Regions from separate parts of the Homo sapiens genome. Here region 1 is linked to region 2. The links are contacts of gene promoters, found by promoter capture Hi-C in blood cells and fetal thymus (Javierre and others, 2016). All regions are on one chromosome and are shown on one strand. Each heading gives the region's core, a stretch centred on a gene start or on the middle of the fragment in contact. The rest is flanking DNA. Distances are from core to core; before and after follow the strand shown.

What was found. The method cuts DNA at HindIII sites, captures the fragments that hold promoters and counts their contacts. A CHiCAGO score of 5 or more calls a contact.
Region 1: a contact is called between the fragment with the promoter of KRT34 here and a fragment that was not itself captured in region 2, in 3 of 17 cell types (M1 macrophages, naive B cells and endothelial precursors). The highest score is 6.4, in M1 macrophages.

Annotation. Positions count from the first base shown.
Region 1 is chr17:41,380,856-41,385,276 of GRCh38, forward strand. It overlaps KRT34 (keratin 34), which reads right to left and starts at 1,451. Exons shown (of 7, transcript NM_001386014.1): 1 at 1,044-1,451; 2 at 858-940; 3 at 201-357. The coding sequence starts at 1,391. RefSeq lists an enhancer at 444-1,643. The HindIII fragment of the contact is 8,651 bases long and covers 1-4,421 here.
Region 2 is chr17:40,852,853-40,856,927 of GRCh38, forward strand. All of the region lies in intron 1 of LOC105371777 (a long non-coding RNA gene), which reads left to right. Among named protein-coding and RNA genes, the nearest start is that of KRT12, 12 kb to the right of the region's middle. The HindIII fragment of the contact is 170 bases long and covers 1,830-1,999 here.

The DNA.
Region 1 (4,421 bases), core at 201-2,700, 530 kb after region 2:
CTGCCTAACCCTCACCCAGCCGCTGAAGAATGAGCAGCTCACTCCACTCCTTGATATGGATGTAGCACCGTCACTCTCTGAGAACATCTTGAGTTCCTCAGAGAAGGGTCCCAGACCAGGGATCCAGACAGTAATCCTCTCCTGATTCCCAGTGCTAGTAGCTTAGTTCTGAGGCCTGCTTTTGTGAATTTGTTTCATACCTCCTCATGGTTCTTCTTCAAGCAGATCAGCTCCTCCCTCAGGGACTCCACCTGGGACTCCAGGTCAGACTTGCAGAGGGTCAGCTCATCCAGGATCCTGCGTATGCTGTTGATGTCCGACTCCACCAACAGCCTCAGGGACTGCTCCGTCTGGTACCTGCACGTGTCGGAGTGGGAGGATAAGTCAGGAAAGAAAACCACCTTCCCCTCTCATGTGTTGTTTGGGTAGAATTGGCCTGAATCTTCTTGAACTTACAGTTTTCTGCCTCTTCTCTTCCATATGCTTCAGTCAAGCTGTCCATGGATAGGCTGAAGAGGTTCCCTGACTCACCTAACACCACGAGGAGCCCACAGGCACACATGAGATGAAGTCTCTCACTGTGTTCTCGGTTTTGTTAGCTAATATACCACCAAATCAATTCCCAAAGAACAATTCATTTCAATCTCTGAATTTTGTGGTTTAAGAAACACTTCCAAAAAAAACCAGTATAGACCAAAGAGCAGGCAGCACATGAGTCTAGTTCCCTATTTGAAACTAATTTTACATAACCAGCCCTAGGAGGAGAAATAGAGAGAAATGGCTTTCTCCTCTCTTCCAGGCAATAGTAGGTCCCTAGGGCCATGAAAGAACCATAGGGACCTTGAAGTTCAACATACTTGCTTCTGAAGTCGTCAGAGGCCAGCTTGGCATTGTCAATGTTCACCACCAGCCTGGCATTCTCAGCCTTGGCACACAGAATCTGAAAAGAAATTTCTCTCATGAGGTACACTTGAACTTGAAAATGTCTTACTGTTCAAAGAGAGCCAGCTGCTGCTGGCCCCCCATATGGCCAACCCCCTCACCTTCTGCTGGAGCTCCTCAATGGTCTTGAAGTAGGACTGGTAGCTGGGGCACAGCAAGGGCTCCTGCTGCTGGGACCGCTCCTGGATGAGTTTCTCCAGCTCCGCGTTGTCCCGCTCCAGCTGACGCACCTTCTCCAGGTAGCTGGCCAGGCGGTCGTTCAGGAACTGCATAGTCTCCTTCTCGCTGCCATTGAAGGAGCCCTCACAGAACCAGTTGCAGTTGCTCACATTGGCGGGGATGTTGCAGGCCCCAGGCAGGGTGTAGCCGTGGCAGCTGGGGGGCACGCAGGGCCGGGAGGAGCAGCTGGTGCGGCAGCCCAGGCTGGGCAGGCAACAACTGTAAGACATGGTGCTGGAACAGGTAATGGAAAAGCAGGTAAGCTGCTGGAGGTGGATGTGGGCAGGTTTGAGTCTCTCCTTCCTCTGCAGTCCTTTTATACCATTAATTGTGGGTGGGGGCTTGGCATACAGCATAGTTTCCTTTCCTAATGCTTCAGCTAATTTTTCTCCAAAATATGCTAGTTAGATGCTTCTAAAGAGTCCCCCCTCAACCCATAAAATTATTCCATTCAGCTTATGTCACACCAGGCTCTTCCTGGGTGCTAGTGGTTGGTGAAATCAGAGTTTCATCAGATGGCTTCATAGGAGATAGAATCATCACAGCCCCAAAAGGCTGTCTGCATTACTCAGAGGGGAGGACAGCCAGGGACATGGGGTGGAGTTGTTTGGGAATCAGGGATTCCTCACCCAGGAGTTTCCGCCACTGTTCTTTCTCCCCAGAGAGAGAGCTCTGAGAGAGAGCTTTGAGAGTTACTCTTCCAAGTAGCTCTTTCCTCCCACATTCATCCATGTTTCAGCATTCAATTTGTTTTTATAGCAGAAACTCAACCTGTATTCGCCGAAATGATCCTGAGCCTTACTATTCGTTGGGGTTTAGGGAACTTGCCAACACATGGAGCAACTGAAAACAATGGCATGTTCATGGTTGAGAAATGAGAAAGTAAAATGGAAACCAATGGAATGGATGGGAGTATACCTAAAAGAGGGCATCTGCAAATGGCAGCCCACACGTCAAGTTTACCCTGCTGAATTTTTGTAAATAAAGTTTTTGTTTGTTTGTTTTCTGTTTTTTTTTTTTTGAGACAGAGTCTCACTCTGTCGCCCAGGCTGGAGTGCAGTGGCACGATCTCGGCTCACTGCAACCTCCACCTCCCGGGTTCAAGCAATTATCTGCCTCAGCCCCCCGAGTAGCTGGGATTACAGGTGCCCGCCACCACACCCGGCTAATTTTTGTGTTTTTAGCAGAAATGGGGTTTCACCATGTTGGCCAGGCTGCTCTTGAACTCCTGAACTCGTGATCCGCCCGCCTCGGCCTCCCAAAGTGCTGGGATTACAGGCGTGAGCCAATGCGTCCGGCAGTAAATAAAGTTTTAATGGAACACAGCCATGCCCATTTGTTTAGCTATTGTATATGGCTGCTTTTGTGCTACAGTGGCAGAGTTGTGTAGTTGTGACAGAGACTATAGTGTCCACAAAGCCCTAAAATTAAAAAATTTGCCAACTTGTACTAAAGCAACAGCCTCTCTAAAGATGAGCAAGAGTAGAAATATCTAGAAGAAAAAATATGCTGGAAACAGTCTGGAGCAGTGAGAGTTCAGATGGCAGCACTGAAGCATGAATATGAAGCATAATACTGCAGACTCACCAAGAAACGAAAATTGGAGCAAGGGTGCTCAGAGGTATCTTTGTATCCATGGTGGCTTTTTCTCAAATTCTCTGGAAATTTCTATCATCTTATTTCTAGACTTGTTCCTCTTTCTAGAGTATTAACTCTCCTAGAGGTATGACTATGCCAGCCTGAGATGCTTCCAGGACAAGCCACAGTGCCCATGAGAATGCAGATTTACTCTGTTGTCCCTACAAGTAGACACTGTCTCTGATAAGTGTGCTTCTATCACCTCTGGGATCCAGTTACCCTTTGACTCTTGCATAACCTAGGGAGCCTCTCTATTGCCCAATAATCACTCTTCACAGAATAGCCTTCCCTACCTCACTTCTTTTCCCTGTCACTCTACCTTGCCTTTGTTCCGCAGGGAAACAAAGTCATGTTTCAGAAAGAAGTCCCAAAAGATTATTTGTGGAACACAATACAAATCATTTAAAGAAGGCTGCATCTGAATTTCAAAAGCAGCATGAGAGGAGCAGAAAAGCACATCTTCGATTTTATTTATTTGAGTGTTTCCTCTTTTTTTCTTAGTCTATCTAGAGGTTTGTAAATTTTCTGTGTCTTTCAAAAAAACTCTGTTTCATTGATTTTTTGCTATTGTTTTTCTAGTCTCTATTTTTATTTATTTCTGCTCTAAGTTTTATCGTAAGTATCATAATAAAATTTAGAGCAAAAAGTGTTATTATATCCTTCCTGCTGCTAACTTTGAGCTTAGTTTGTTCTTTATCTTTTTTAATTTTTTAATTTTTGTAGGTACATGGTAGGCGTGTGTGTATGTTTAGATATAGGTTTATGTATATACATATATAAAACTTTCCTCTTAGTACTGCTTTTGCTGCATCCCATAAATTTTGATACGTTGTGTTCTCATTTTCATTTGTCTCAAGATATTTTCTAATTTCCTTTTTGATTTCTTCTTTGACCCATTGATTATTTAAATGTTTTTTAATTTCTACATATTTGTGTATTTTTCAGTTTTTTTCTTATTTCCGTTCTAGTTTTCTAGTTTCATTCCATTGTGGTAGGAAAAGATACTTAGTATGATTTCAATCCTCTTAAATTCGTTAAGACTTGTTTTGTGACCCAACATATGATCTATCCTGGACAATGTTCCGCATGCACTGGAGAATATGCATTCTGCTACCATTGGATAGAACGTGTTATTTGTTAGGTCCATTTGTTCTATAGTATTGCTCAAATCTGTTGTTTCCTTGTTGATTTTCTATCTGAATGTTCTATTCATTATCAAAAGTGAGTTACTGAATTCTTCTATTATTGCATTGTCCATTTCTCCCTTTGGTTCTGTCAATGTTTGTTATATATATATTAGGTGCTCTGATGTTGGGTTCATATATGTGTGCAATTGTTATATCTTCCTGGTGAATTTTTTCATTATTATATAATGTTCTTCTTTGCCTTTTGTGACAATTTTTGACTTAAAGACTATTTTGTCTGATATATAAGTACAGCCATCCTGCTGTCTTTTGGTTACCATTTGTACGGAATATTTTTTTTCCCATTCCTTCACTTTCAGCCTATACATTGTCTTTAAATCTAAAGTCAGTCTCTTCTAGATAGTATGTAGATAGTACTTGTTGGTTTTTTGAAAATCCATTCAGCTACTCCATGTCTTTTGATTGGAGAGTTTAATT
Region 2 (4,075 bases), core at 665-3,164:
TTCCAGGATTATCTCTATTGGATGCTGATTATATATATTTGTATTTTTTAAATGATAAACATTTATTTTATTATTTGTCAGCCTACTCAGTCATATATTAGATAGGCTAGGGAAGTTTAACATTAAAATTATCATCCAGAATCAGCACATAAGGCTGTTTAAAATGGGTATCCAGTGAAAACACCGTAAAGCACCTTGGGAGGTACTTTTTATCCAATGTAAATTGTAATATACAATGTAAAAACTGTATGAAACTTTATCATGTATTTGCCTTTAGATCATAAAAACTGAGGTTATTTTCAATAGACTATGTAGAGTCTTACATATAGTTGGTGCTAAATAAAAGCTTGTTGAAGGAATTGAAGCCATCCTCACAGAATTAAGAATTCTGGGCAGAAATGTAGTTATAATTAAGCTTTAACCAGGCTGCACTTTGACCCACTTCCTTGTAACTAAACATCACATAACCTTAGATTCTGACCATTTGCATCCCCATTGTTCCTGTAGATAGAAATTCTAATGTTAGAACCATGAGGCTTTTGTTTAAGAATTGCTTAAACGGATCCTGAATTACTGTGGAACTGCTAACGCCAACCAATTTAAAGACTCCCACAGACAAACCAAATGAGCATGAGAGTACAGTTTCTTTCTCTCCCTGTCCTGGGACTTCACCCTGTACTCTTCAACTAATCAACAATCTCTATGCTTTGGCTCACTCCAAAACTCTTAAAAACCCTCGCCCCAGAGTCCCCGGGAAGATGGATTTGGGGTTTTCTCTTTTCTCCTCATTTGTTGGCCTTACCATTAAACCTCTGTCTCTGTTGCAACCTGGTGCCTCTGGGTATTGACTTGCTGTGAACATCCAGGCAATGAACCTATTACAGCTACAGAATGAATACACAAATAAATGCATATGTGATGCCCCACTTGTATACATAAATAAGCCAGCGGAGAAAACCAAACACCACATGTTCTCACTCATAAATGGAAGTTGAACAATGAGAACATGTGGACACAGGGAGGGGAGCATCACACACCGGGGCCTGTCGGGGAGTGAGGGACTAGGGGAGGGATAACATTAAGGAGAAATACCTAATGTAGATGATGGGTTGATGGGTGCAGCAAACCACCATGGCACGTGTATGCCTATGTTACAAATCTGCACGTTCTGCACATGTATCTCAGAACTTAAAGTATAATAATAAAAAATAAAAATTACACTGCAACTTGTCAAAAAAGTTATACTTGTTGCTCTGTTTATTTGAAACGTGAAATTGCAGCCTGACGTGATTTCTTTAAAATCCCATGTTACTTGCAAATAAATGAAATATTTCAAAATGAGTACACTTAGCAGAAACTTAGTAGTGTATGTATAACTTCAGGAGATCAATAAGTGCAAGTCAGTAACTAAAATGACCATATTCTTACCAACCAAGGTCATAGCGTCGTGTGTTTACGGTGTTTTTAAAGATTTCAAAATGCCGGGCTAATGTGATTATATGTGATATTATTGTTGTCTTTTTGTACAAAGTGAGTCATCTCAAGTTGAGTAACTTGTTCTGAGTAAGATAATGACTCACTGAGAAAGCCTGAAATACCATCTAAATGGCTTCTATTAGAGCCCACTGCTGTCTGTGGACTGTTTTATCAGTGTGATTTATTTACAGGTCTGCTTCTAAATTGCGTATTTGTTCCATCATTTTGAAGAAGAGTTGCATTTCATTAAGAATATGTACATAGTGAAAAAACAATGACATATTTTAGCAACTAGAATTCGCAATGAATTTAATTCTAAAGAAGAGTAGTATGCAGAATTTTTTTCCTGAAAAAGCTTGATGCTCATGTTTTTACAGTCTATAAAGTTAAAATATCTATTCTGAGTTTTGCAAACAATTTATTGCATGTGTGTAAAGCATTGCATTTATTTATAATTCTGCTATATTATGCTAATTTAAGAAATAAACCCTAAAATCATGCATGACAATTCCCAAGAATGCTAAGCTTTTTTTGAGACGGAGTCTCACTCTGTCGCCCAGGCTGGAATGCAGTGGTGCGATCTCAGCTCACTGCAAGCTCTGCCTCCCGGGTTCACACCATTCTCCCGCCTCAGCCTCCCAAGTAGCTGGGACTACAGGTGCCCGCCACCACGCCCGGATAATTTTCTGTATTTTTAGTAGAGACAGGGTTTCTCTGTGTTAGCCAGGATGGTCTCAATCTCCTGACCTCATGATCTGCCCGCTTCGGCCTCCCAAAGTTCTGGGATTATAGGCGTGAGCCACTGCTCCCAGCCCCAGTTTTTCTTAATTTATTTTATATACTCTGTATTTAGTTGTAGAATCCTCCCCTTCAATTTGAGCAGCTACATTAATATTAGCATTTTAGACAGGCACCGTGGTTTGCACCTTTCATCAGGCATCTGACATTTGACTAAAATGGCAGTAGTCTGAGGTGGGAGGATCACTTGAGCCCAGGAATTTGAGGCTGCAGTGAGCTATGAGCACACCATTGCACTACAGCCTGGGTGACAGAGAGCGACCCCATCTCTGAAGAAAGCACATCTTATAGTTTCAAAGTGCTTTATGGCTTGTTAAGCTCCTTCACAGAAGTTGGCTTATTTGATGCTCACAACTTGTGATAGAGGGAAGATAAATATTATTCCCCCCTCCCCATATGTTGGGTGAGAAAAGTGCACTTTTTTTTTTTACAAAAGTGGAATAATTTAGGATTGTGCATGAAGGGAAGAAAAAGAATAAATATGTCTGGGGGAAATATGTAAACCAGTTCATTTCTTTAGTTGTAGAGAGACTTTTTTTCTTTGCATAATAATAGCAGGTAATATTTAGTGCTTACTATATGCCAAGTGTGAATTGACCCATAGAATTCTCATAATAGGGCGTGAAGCAGGTATCCTTTTTTGCCTTGATTTTAGGGAACAGAGAACTATGGAACAGAGAGGTAAGTAAAACCATTAGAAAGTGCCAGAGCTGGGACCCAAACTCAGGCCTTTGAACTGTGCTTTTAACCTCTATGCTCAGTGGTGTACTGGTGTAAAACAGTTTTCTGGGAAATACATTTTAAAAGCCCAAGTTCCATTTGTGTAAATACTCCCATCATGGCCAATTTCAAGCTGCCCATGGTTTAATAGCCAGCTTGGAAAATTCCTGAATATTTACTGATCAGTGATTAAGAGCCAGCTTGCCCTAGGACACCTTTGACGATCCTACATGGCCTCTCTGCGCCTGTGGACAGTATCATCTGAAGAAAGAATATTCAATTATTATTTTAAAATTGACTATTGAGTTAATATTTACTTACAATGAAATATATTCGTTTTAAATGTGCAGTTTGAAGAGCCTTGCTAAATGGACCCATCACCACAGTCAAGATACGGAACACTTCCATCGGTCCCAAAGGTTCTCAGGTGCCCCTTCCAGGTTAACCAGTTAATTCTCACTCCTCCCACACCTTTCAGCTCAGGTGACCACTGAGCTTATTTCTGTCACTATAGATGAGATTTTATCTTTCTGAAAGTTTCATATAAATGGAATCATACAGTATGTATTCTTTTGTGTCTGGTTTCTTTAGCTCAGCACAATCTTGGATTCAGTTCCAAGATTTAAGAAACATTTACTACCCCATAAAAAAATCATTTACTCAGCTATATGATTAAGAATTTCATTTTCATTTGATATTTGAGTATGTTTTTAAAGCCTGAGTAGTTATTGATTGGCTGGTTTTCTTAACTCTAAATAATTGCTAACTTTCTTTTTCACTTTATGCCTTGTAGAACTGCCTCCTTACTGGTGAACTTTTTGGAAACTAATTATTAGTTAAATAAGACAATTTTAATTTGCTAAGTTGATCGTTGTAAAAGGTTTGCTTTTTTTCTTCTTTCTTGTTTTAAAAGATAAACCTTCTAGTATCAATACATCTCAAGTGGCTTGAACACACAGGCTTAGCTTATTTTTATTTTATTTTATTTTATTTTTTGAGACGGAATCTTGCTCTGTTGCCCAGGCTGGAGTGCAGTGGTGTGATCTTGGCTCACTGCAACCTCCGCCTCCTGGGTTCAAGC